4 separate regions of the Homo sapiens genome follow, and regions 1, 2 and 4 are each linked to region 3. Evidence: promoter capture Hi-C in 16 types of primary human blood cells and fetal thymus (Javierre and others, 2016). All regions are on one chromosome and are shown on one strand. Each heading gives the region's core, a stretch centred on a gene start or on the middle of the fragment in contact. The rest is flanking DNA. Distances are from core to core; before and after follow the strand shown.

What was found. The method cuts DNA at HindIII sites, captures the fragments that hold promoters and counts their contacts. A CHiCAGO score of 5 or more calls a contact.
Region 1: the fragment with the promoter of SLC30A1 here is called in contact with the fragment with the promoter of NENF in region 3 in 1 of 17 cell types (total B cells); the score reaches 6.0 in total B cells.
Region 2: the fragment with the promoter of LPGAT1 here is called in contact with the fragment with the promoter of NENF in region 3 in 1 of 17 cell types (naive CD8 T cells); the score reaches 5.2 in naive CD8 T cells.
Region 4: a fragment that was not itself captured here is called in contact with the fragment with the promoter of NENF in region 3 in 1 of 17 cell types (naive B cells); the score reaches 6.8 in naive B cells.

What each region holds. Positions count from the first base shown.
Region 1 is chr1:211,577,895-211,580,594 of GRCh38, reverse strand. It overlaps SLC30A1 (solute carrier family 30 member 1), which reads left to right and starts at 1,434. Exons shown (of 2, transcript NM_021194.3): 1 at 1,434-2,604. The coding sequence starts at 1,983. RefSeq lists silencers at 845-1,404, 1,645-1,954, 2,455-2,700 and enhancers at 1,261-1,760, 1,761-2,262, 2,235-2,344. The HindIII fragment of the contact is 24,351 bases long and covers 1-2,700 here.
Region 2 is chr1:211,829,513-211,832,212 of GRCh38, reverse strand. LPGAT1 (lysophosphatidylglycerol acyltransferase 1) reads left to right here and starts at 1,450. Exons shown (of 8, transcript NM_014873.3): 1 at 1,450-1,640. It overlaps LPGAT1-AS1 (LPGAT1 antisense RNA 1), which reads right to left and starts at 1,252. Exons shown (of 6, transcript NR_135820.1): 1 at 1,173-1,252; 2 at 801-957. RefSeq lists a silencer at 1,266-2,025. The HindIII fragment of the contact is 5,763 bases long and covers 1-2,304 here.
Region 3 is chr1:212,431,623-212,434,322 of GRCh38, reverse strand. NENF (neudesin neurotrophic factor) reads right to left here and starts at 1,403. Exons shown (of 4, transcript NM_013349.5): 1 at 1,203-1,403. The coding sequence starts at 1,379. LOC105372906 (a long non-coding RNA gene) reads left to right here and starts at 1,506. Exons shown (of 3, transcript XR_922577.4): 1 at 1,506-1,698; 2 at 2,479-2,582. RefSeq lists an enhancer at 808-897 and a silencer at 1,058-1,617. The HindIII fragment of the contact is 20,197 bases long and covers 1-1,970 here.
Region 4 is chr1:212,995,127-212,997,826 of GRCh38, reverse strand. It overlaps ANGEL2 (angel homolog 2), which reads left to right. Exons shown (of 9, transcript NM_144567.5): 8 at 509-672; 9 at 2,635-2,700. Among named protein-coding and RNA genes, the nearest start is that of ANGEL2, 19 kb to the left of the region's middle. The HindIII fragment of the contact is 2,093 bases long and covers 397-2,489 here.

The DNA.
Region 1 (2,700 bases), core at 185-2,684, 850 kb after region 3:
AACACACTACATACAAGTGAAAAAAATTTCATAGGAATTACAAGAATACCAAAACAATGCAAAATAACAGCTCCAAACAAGCCTTGTATACACATCTCCAGGCAATAGCTGGCACTGCATTTGTCCAGTAGTAATCTAGGGCAGTGGGTGGGGAGGTCCTTCTGCTGCGCAGGGGCTGTGGTGAGGCCTTTCAGGTCCAGCTTAAGCCACTCTGATTCCAGCCACCACCCCACCTTAGATGGGCAAGCTGTTCCTTTCCAGATCAACTCATCTCCACCCACAACACAGTGCTTATGTATTCAGTCTAAAATAGCACAATTTATCAAGAGTATTCCATCGTAATTTTAAAATGTCGTGTTTATATTTTACCTCCACCTGGACAGAAACTCGTTCCTTTGTATTCTTACTGCCCCTCCACCTCCCCATAGCAACCAGCACAAGATTCCACCGTGTGTAGTCTATAAATAAATGTTAAATCATAGAGCCTTAGAATTTTGGAGTCAGACGGGGATCTTCAGAGTTGCATTTGTCCAGTCCTTTATAGATGGGGAAACAGGTCTAGAGAGATTAGGTGACTTGCTCAAAGCCACACAGCTGGCTATTGACAAGGCAAGGAGCAGAGCCCAGGTTTCTCCTGCCTGAAGTCTGTACCCTGAACTGTCCTTAGATAATCAGTGACAGACACCTGAGTTCACACAAGGTCTCCAGGGGTTGATGGTGATAGGAGAAACTGGCTTTCCCAAAACATGTACAAAGATTCGGTCCACGCCCCTAGCAGACCTTCGGGAGGACTAACTCCTCAGCTCGGCGTCCAGCAGAGTCCCAAGTTACAGTCGCACTTGTTTATGCGTCTGTCGGCCTCCTCCGACAGGACCGAGTACTCGAGGGCCCCGCGCTCAGGGGCTCCCCTCCGGCCCCTCCCCCGCCGCCGAGCTGTCACACAGCCGCCGCGCGGCCCGCCCCCACGTGGACTGGGCTCGGAGGATCAAAGTCTGTTTGCAGACTTTGCAGCCCGGCCCCCGCAGGTGTGCTGGGAGTTGCGATGGTCCGCAGGCCAGGACTCCGCCACACCCGAGGGGACCCGGCCAGCCCCTCCCCCTCCCGCTGCACGCGGCCCGCGCCCCCAATTCGCCCGCCGCTGCACCCGGCCACGGCCCCCCGGCCCACGCCCGGCTCCGGGAGGAAAAGGCCCCGCCCCTATCTGTTGGAGCCGCGACCCCGCCCCCTTCCCGCCCCTCCGAGGCTCCATCCAATAGTGAGCGTGGCTGGGCGGGACGCCGAGGCTGTCGTGAGGGGGTCCTGACCAATGGGGAAGCGTGCCGGGCCTGGTGGGCGGGGCGGCAAGGCCTTGTCACGCTCGGGTCCGTGTGAAAACGGGGGTTCCGAGTGCAAAGCAAAGTTTTTTTGTAAACCGTCTGCAAAGGCGGGGGGGCGAAGAAGGCGCCCGAGACCGGGCCGAGTGCAGCTGCCGTGGCCGCCGCCTCTCTAGCTCCTCAGCCATCCGCTCCTCAGTCCAGCCGCCGCAGAGGAGACCAGCAAGCAGAGCCCTCAGATGCTCGGAGCTTTCTCGGCGCGAAGCTGCCCGTCGCCCTCTCCTGCCGCCCTCGCCCGCCGCCCTCCTGCTCCTGCTCCGGCTGCGGCTCTTGGTACCCCGGCTCCGGGAGCCCAGCTCCCCGCCACCGCCGCCGCCTGGGTGTGGGGGCTGCTGAGGCTGAGCCGGGCCTCGGCGCCGGCTCTGAGGACGGACGCCTGAGGAGCTGCGCGGCGCGGCGCCGCCGGCTGGCGGAGAACGCCCACAGGCGCGGGGCTCGGCGGCTTGACCCGGGCTTGTCCCCGTGCGGCCGCGGGGGCCCCTCAGCGGTTTCCCGAACGGCCCGACTCGGGCGCTCCTCCGTGTCGCGGTCGCCGACCCTCCGCGTCCCGCCAACGCCGCCGCTGCACCAGTCTCCGGGCCGGGCTCGGCGGGCCCCGCAGCCGCAGCCATGGGGTGTTGGGGTCGGAACCGGGGCCGGCTGCTGTGCATGCTGGCGCTGACCTTCATGTTCATGGTGCTGGAGGTGGTGGTGAGCCGGGTGACCTCGTCGCTGGCGATGCTCTCCGACTCCTTCCACATGCTGTCGGACGTGCTGGCGCTGGTGGTGGCGCTGGTGGCCGAGCGCTTCGCCCGGCGGACCCACGCCACCCAGAAGAACACGTTCGGCTGGATCCGAGCCGAGGTAATGGGGGCTCTGGTGAACGCCATCTTCCTGACTGGCCTCTGTTTCGCCATCCTGCTGGAGGCCATCGAGCGCTTCATCGAGCCGCACGAGATGCAGCAGCCGCTGGTGGTCCTTGGGGTCGGCGTGGCCGGGCTGCTGGTCAACGTGCTGGGGCTCTGCCTCTTCCACCATCACAGCGGCTTCAGCCAGGACTCCGGCCACGGCCACTCGCACGGGGGTCACGGCCACGGCCACGGCCTCCCCAAGGGGCCTCGCGTTAAGAGCACCCGCCCCGGGAGCAGCGACATCAACGTGGCCCCGGGCGAGCAGGGTCCCGACCAGGAGGAGACCAACACCCTGGTGGCCAATACCAGCAACTCCAACGGGCTGAAATTGGACCCCGCAGGTGAGCCGGGAAAGTCGCTGCCGCAGGTGGTTGGGTTTGGGGTGCCCAGAGCCTCGCCTGGCCTTCGGCGGGGTGGCCCGCACGCCCCCTGCTGCC
Region 2 (2,700 bases), core at 201-2,700, 600 kb after region 3:
CTGAGCCTGAAAATGAATTCTGGGCCTGGTACTAATTGCATTTCATCAAGTGCTGCTGTGTCTGGTCCTCTGGCAGATGGTCCCTGATCCAGGAATCACGTGTAAATCCCATTGTAGGTTATCTCTCTCCAGGTGTCAGCCAACGTTTACGCAGCATGTGGGAAAGCTGAATTGCATGGACCAGATGGAATCCTTAGAGTTTATTCTTGATTGTGGAAATAAATATGTACCTCACCTATCTTACTGAAGAATATAATGACATATTTTGAATAATAAAGTATATATATTATCTCTCTCATGAGATTTATTTAAAGATCTTACTACCTTGTCAATAAAGAGAGAATGCAAGGAATAGAATGGGGCATATCTTTCCTTCACCTGTGGACCTAAGAGGAACTGAAATTAGAGAAAGTTGAGAGTCCAGAGCAAACGCTGTGATGAACATTTTCAAAATAGGCAGAATAGGTGGCATTCTGATTCAAATATGGCAGTTCCCTAGGGAGTGTGAAATCTGCCCTGCCCCATCCCCTCCATTTACAAATGTGCTTAAGGGACATAAGGTTTTATAAACAGGATTTTTAAAAACTAAAATTTAGGCAGATCATTTAAGAATGCTCAAGGGGGTAGGTCAATGGACTATTTCTCTATTTTCCTTCAGGTGGTCCAGCCTTTGAACCAGAATGCAGCTATAGTATCCCAAGTGACGGGGTCTGTCTAGGAGTTCCCATGGCCACTGTTTTTTGTCTTTTCGGTTTTTCTTTTTATGGCGGGCGGGGGAGGGCGGGCGGGTGAGTACTTACTTAATGCCAGGCACTTGGTTGTTTTTTCCTTCTTGACTAACCAGATTTCAGTTTCTCTGTGTAGACCATTCATTCCCACTGAGTTTCTTGGTGGGGTGGTGGGGGCGGGGGCGATGAATGGGAAAGTGGAATTGCCATTAATGTTCCAGCTGCTTTCCTGAAACAAGACTTTTGACCGTAAAAAGAATGAATTTGAAACTCTAGACAATAATACACTGCAGAGGTTAAGAAGAAAAGCCATGAGTGCAACCGGGTTTCATTAAGAATGAAAAGTGGACATTTAGCCGTCAAGGAGACAGGTTCCTAGTTTGGGCAGAGAAGAGAGCCCTAACAATGAAAGGCGGCCGTGTTGGCTGAAAGGGGGCTCTCAACTGAAACCAAGGCACTCCTGGGGTGTGAGGATGGGTGTTCATTCCTAGATCTTTCCGAGCGGCCCTTTCCCTCAGTATGTTCTGGACTCACTGAGGTCCTGGCCGAGCGTCCAGGTAGCCCCGAGGGCCCCGACTCGCTGGCGCAGGGGTAGGGGGAGCGGGCCAGGCGGGGCAAGCGGGCCAGGCAGCGGCGGCGGCGCTTTCATTAGAGGGCGCTGTGGGAGCGGCTCCGCCGCAGTCCCGACTCCCGCCGCTTCCTCCCGCCGCCCCTCCCCGCCAGTCCGGGCGAACGCGGCCGGGCCCTTGGGGACCGAGTCTCGGCGCCGCCGGGGAACGGGCGCGGGCCGCGCCACAGCCGGAGCGGGGCAGGGCCCCGCCACCGCCTTCTTCCGCCGGCCCCGCCGCCGGCCATGCATTCTTCCGGCTCCTCTGACTCCCAAAGCCCCGGCTGGGGCCCGGCCAGCCCGAGGTAACCTCCGGCTCCGCGGTCGCAGGCCCCAGAGCGGCAGCGGAGCCGGGCCAGGGGAGGCGCTGGGGGCGGGGAAGGGGGTGTCGTCGTCGCGTGGCCCGGGGAGGCGGCAGCGGCCTGAGGGACGAGGGCGCGGTAGGCCCCGGGGAGGAGGCGGGGGCGCGGGGCATCCGCCCGCCTCCCCGGGACCCGCCCGGGTGACAGGTCCGGCCTCTGAGTCCCCGCCGTCCCTCTGTCCGCAGGCAGCCGCGAGGGGAGTAGGGCGCCAGCGCGCCCGCTCGCGCAGCGCCTCGGGCCGCTTGGGCCGCCACCGCGTCCATGACCGCGACCCCTCGGCGGGGGACACCCGCCCCCGCTCTCCGCAGCCGCCCGCCGTCCGCGCCCGCCGAGGTGAGCCCGGCGCGCGGGCCGCGCCCGCCGCCACGACCCTTCCACATCCGCGGAAACCGCTGCAGGCTCCACCGGCTCCCCGCGCTGCGGTCGCCTCTTCTCTGCCCCTTTCATCATCCCCTGCTTCCTTGCCCTCTGGTCGGAAATCTCATTCTCTTCATCCCCAGTTCCTTGGCTTTTACCTCTTTCTGGCTTTTGCTCCCTTCCCCCTACTCCTGTCCTTCCTCTTTTTCGCATTATAACCCCCTACTTTCTTCCTCTCACCTTGTAAGCTTTTTTTCTAGGCCCCCCATTTTTTTTCTTAAAAAAAAAAGGGAAACAAAAACCCTATTGCTACAAATGAGAATTTTGAGGGTAACTCTTCGCTAGAGCCAGAGACCTTTTAAAGGAATGCATCGGTGTGCAGGAATCGTGGTGGTGAGGAGACTGAGGTCCTCAGTATCTGGGAAATCTTATTGAGGGGACCCTGTTTCGGTCATGTCACTTGTGTCTTCAGTTTGGAGATCCTGAGGTTGTCTGAAGCGAGTGGATCTATTTTTCTAAGTCCAATAGACGACCGCAGTGAGACACGGTGCGGGGACGGCCACCGATTACTGAATGGGAATTGTGTTATCATTTGCTAAATATATTGTGACATACTTCGTGCCTCGGTGAACAGCTCCCTTGACCT
Region 3 (2,700 bases), core at 154-2,653:
CAAGTAGGCTTTTCTAAGGAGAGCAGGCCTGCCATGTTAATTCTTTTCTGCACGGATGCCTGGACTCTGAACCATCTGGTTCCCTCTGCTACCGGCAAAAAGGCATCCCTTAACATCCTCACATCCCAGCCATGTCTCCCTCCCTCGGTGTCCTCACTGACTCATGGTTCTAAATGGCCCCTTCACAAATGATGCCCAAACTGGCATCACTGACTAAGGGCCAGGTTTCTGATACCCCCATGCAATCCTAGTCCATATAAGGCCAATTAACTCAGGAATTAGCGAGACCAGGCCAGAGGGTTTTGAAAAACATCAGGCCTCTTCCTGCTCTACCACTAACAGGTGGCAGGCCTCAGTTTCCTTATGTGTAAAAGCAGGAGATGGGTTCCTGCCAGCTCTGAAATACTATGGTACTATGACCTCCCCCCAATGCCGTTCCCCCGCTCCACATCTAATATCAGCCCCCTGTTGGTCCTTGTCGTGCGGCTCCAGTCCCAACCAACCCAGGTGGGCAGGTGGTTGTGAGTTTTCTGGACGCCTCTAGACTATTGACGTGTGTGGGTGTGTGTGGGCGGGGGGGTCTCTATTGACGTGTGGCGGGGGGGTTGTGGGGGTCTCTAACCTCCAGTCCACCCTCTGCGCTCACTTCCAGCTTTGGCTGAGCCCCAGGGGTACATGACCTAAAAGTGGGTTTGAGGAGTCCGATGCAGAGGCCTGGGATACAGGGGCAGGAAAAGGAAGTGCAGGCAAAGACTGGCTTATCCCAGGACCTGTCTCAATTCCCACCTAACCCAGGGAGCAGGCTCTGCTTCCCTCCCTCCGTCCCCCGCCACTCCCCACTATGCGTGGGCACAGTAAACGCCTCGGCTGATGCTAACATGAAAACCAAAAAGTTCTGAGGTCTGTACGCAGATCATCAACGAAAAGGCGGCTAGAGGGGAAATCTCCCGGGGACCGAGGGAGAAGTTCAGGGTGGGGTGTGCGGGCAAAGCGGAGCGCTCCGACTGTTGAGGACTCGTCCTCACCCCTCGGCCATCCTTCGGGGCCTAGAGAGAGGAGGCCCCCCGCCGGCCCAGGGCGCCCGCCGCGGGCCGCGCGTCCCCCAGAGCTTCCTGGGCCGCCGGCGCCTCCTGGGTCCCCGCTCGGCTCGCCGCAGATCGGACGCCACCCCGGGTCCCTCGGCCCGCGACACCCCCGCCTACCTCCTCCCCGCCATAGCGGGCCAGCTCCTCCTCGGTGAAAAGCCGCACTGGGGGCCCCCGCTCGGCAGGGCGCGGTGTCTGCCCGGCCCGGGCTGTGGGCAGCCCCGGGGCCAGCGCCAGGACCAGGGCCAGCGCTGCCAGCGGCCGCAGCCGCCGCCGCGGCGCGGGGCCCACCATGGTGAGCGCGCAGCGCAAGGCAAGGCCGGGCCAGGGCGGCGGGGCCCTAGCACGCCCGCCCAGCGTCCCGGAGTCCCGCCCCGCGCCCAGAGCCTCCCCGAGGGCGGGGACCCGAGAACTCCCGCCCTTCGCGCGCCTCCTGCGCCCCGGGGTGGGGCTGGCCGGGCTACTCGGGCCACGCAGCTGGAACCTGGAAATTAGGATTGGAATCCTGAACTCCTAAATCCAAACTACAGACTGGAAGTTACCAAAAAATGTCACAGTGGTTCCTTGATCAGGTAGAAAGATGACAGAGCCCAACATACCAGAACCTAGAAAGGTATATTTCTAAAATAAGACCCCAACTGTCTTAATTCGCTTTTATTTTTGGCTGATTTTTTTTCTTCCTGGTTGTGTTTAAGTTTCTGGTTCCCAAGGAGATTTTTGCAAAGGGTAGGGTGCTGTTACCGATACGCCCTGAAATAATAATAGCTAACATTTGTGCCAAACTTTGCTCATTACTTTATGCAACAAATATTTTTGAGTACCTCCATGTACCAGGTCACTGGGGACTCACCACTGAACAAGACAGATCCACGCCCACGTGAAGCTTACATTGTGTGGGCAGATAGACAATAAGATGCTAAGTAGTATGTTAGATGGTGGTAAATACTAGGGAGAAAAAGTAGGGCAAAGAGATAGGGAGCACTGGGATGGACATTTTATTTTATTTTATTGTTATGTATTTATTTATTTTTGAGACGGAGTCTGTCGCCTACGCTGGAGTGCAGTGGCGCCATCTCGGCCCACTGCAACCTCCACCTTCCGGGTTCAAGTGATTCTCCTGCCTCAGCCACCAGAGTAGTTGGGATTACAGGCACCCACCACCACGCCTGGCTAATTTTTTTTTTTTTTAATTTTTAGTCGAGATGAGGTTTCACTATATGCTGGCCAGGCTGGTCTCGAACTCCTGGCCTCAAGTGAACCATCCACCTCATCCACCCAAAGTGCTGGGATTACAGGTGTGAGGAACGGTGCCCGGTTATGGGGATGGTCATTTTAAATAGGCAGGTTAGGGAAGGCCTCACTGAGAACAGGGTATTTGCATAAAAATCTACAGGAGGCGAAGGAGGCGGTCTAGAGGGAAGAGCACTTTGGTCAAAGGATCAGGTGCATAAATGCGGAGGAATGAGGATGCCCGGCTTGCTGGAGGATCAAGGGAAGGTAAGAGGGGTAGGTGAAGTCAGGAAGGAAGCGGGTAAGGGAGTGGGGGTGGATCTTGGGGGCTTCACAGGTTATTTTCAAGACTGGCTTTTACTTTCAAGACTGGAATAGAGGAATT
Region 4 (2,700 bases), core at 194-2,693, 560 kb before region 3:
TTTACTCATAACATCACATATATTTGTGCATGGGGCAAATATAATAAACCATTAGAGAAGCTGTTTTAAGATGCAGTACAAAATTATATGTGATAGCAAGAAAAATTAGAGAAGAATATGGCCTCTCTGTCATCAAAAGTCTAGAGGATTCCAAATAGTGTTCCTGAAGACCCCCTTGATTCTCTTTCTTAAAAACACAATAAAACTTGTTAGAATACATGTTCTTTAGTAAGTGGAGGCATTCACACGTTATAAATAATGAAAAAACACATTAGTATGTTAATTATTGAGCTTTTTTTAAAAACCACATTTATAATGGCTTTATTGATGGGTTTTAGATATCACTGCATAAGTAAATTAATACTAAATTATGATATGGTCTTTTTAAATAAAGCTTGTCCTAATGTTTGGTCTTAGTCTAGAAATTAAGTGAAAAAGAAATTCAGATAGGAGGAATTCTTGAAGTTACAAAAACTCGGATTCTAAACACTTCTTCTTTTCTATTTAGATTGTCTTCAAATTTACAGCACCATTTCAGTTTGTCATCTGTTTATTCACATTACTTTCCTGACACTGGAATTCCAGAAGTGACCACCTGTCATTCCCGAAGTGCCATAACTGTGGATTATATTTTCTACTCTGCAGAAAAGGAAGATGTTGCTGGGCACCCAGGTAAGGAATGCATGTAATCTTAAATTCTCCTAGAGAGCACAGTAGCTAAAACCTCAAGGTTAAAGTTAAGAAAGCTCTCTAAACATCCAGTTGAAGTTCTAGATCTAGAAGGTAAAAATATTTCGAAATAGACAGATTGGTAATATATTTGAATAAATCAGTTGATTACTTGCATATGAGGGAGGCAATAAAACACATCCAAGCAAATTATTACCCAAGAATTACATTAGCAGTCCTACCCTCCAGTTCCAGTCAGCCTCTGAGTTATAGGTCTTTCATATTGCCCTTTCTTTTTGCTTGCCATAAATTTACTGTTTTTCCTGTGACAGGAACTGAGTATGTTGTTAATGGTCATCATAGTTTTGTGCTTAAATTTTACCGAGGCGTCCTGCCTTCATTGGAGGACCATAGTTACACTGCCAGCAACACAGCTTATGCTGTCATGTTGACTCTGGAATATTGGATTTTTCTGAGGAGGAAAAGTATATATATATATATATATATATATATATATTTTTTTTTTTTTTTTTTGGATACAGAGTCTCGCTCTGTTACCCAGGCTAGAGTGCAGTGGCATGATTCTCGGCTTACTGCAACCTCTGTCTCCCGGGTTCAAGTGACCTTCCCACCTCAGCTTCCCGAGTAGCTAAGACTACAGGCATGAGCCACCATGCCCACCTAATTTTTGTATTTTTTGTAGAGACAGGGTTTCACCGTGTTGCCCAGGCTGGTCTCAAACTCCTGGGCTCAAGCCGTCCACCTCGGCCTCCCAGGGTGGCTTGGATTACAGGCATGAGCCACCACATTCGGTCAGAAAAGTCTATATAATTTTTTTGTTTGTTTGTTTTTGAGACGGAGTCTCGCTCGTCGCCCAGGCTGGAGTGCAGTGGCGCTATCTCAGCTCACTGCAAGCTCCGCCTCCCAGGTTCACACCATTCTCCTGCCTCAGCCTCCCGAGCCACTGGGACTACAGGCGCCCGCCACCATGCCCGGCTAATTTTTTGTATTTTTAGTAGAGACGGGATTTCACCGTGTTGGCCAGGATGGTCTCGATCTCCTGACCTCATGATCTGCCTGCCTCGGCCTCCCAAAGTGCTGGGATTACAGGCGTGAGCCACTGTGCCCGGCCGAAAATCAGGTTTTAAACATTAGCCAAAGGATTTAAAGTGGAGAAGAAAATGCAGTTTAAGATTACTGGAAGTACAAAAATACCTTTAAGAAAACTTTGGAATGTGAGCAGCTGTTTTATTCTTTTCTGATTTTTTTCATTTTTTTCTCTTCCATTTTTTTGGATGCTTCTTTTTCTTTACCCTTTTCCCCTCTGTTTGTTCCCCCCTCCTTTCTTCTGGGAATAACCTTATTAGTAACACTCACGAGATGACTTATTCCTGCCACTAGATCTACTCTACAAAAAATATGCCTGCTGCTTTGAATTTATAGTAAGGTTTTCGTAGTTGTCATGCTGACAGAAGTTCACTTGGTGGCAGGAGAGTGTTATGGATCAGCATTTCAAAAAGAGCATGTCATCTTCACTTCTGTGGGTGCTGACTATCTGGGACTAAATTATACTAATTTATTCTCCATTCACCTTATAAACTGCTACAGGGCTGTGGCCCGGTGTCTCTGGCTTTATGCAACTACAGAATGGTTGCTGGATGAGTTTCTTATGTAGTTGTCAACCACAAATTACCCTTAACATTCTTAAGTATTTCATTTATATTTTCTTCTAAAGATTGTTTACAGAGCTGGAAATAGAAAAAATATCTCAAACTGCTGTGTGTTTGATAATTATAATTAGGTTATAATTCAATAAAGCTTAGATATTCTAAAAACTGTGTCATAGTTTTTAGTCTTCTGGAGGGGCCTCAAGTTCTATATTTGTTTGGAGAAAAGACTTGTATGATTAATTTACAATAACCCGTTGACAATTTTACTAAATATGTGTGTGCTTCTTTAATGTAGGAGCTGAAGTTGCTTTGGTTGGTGGCTTGAAACTTCTAGCTAGACTGTCACTTCTTACAGAACAAG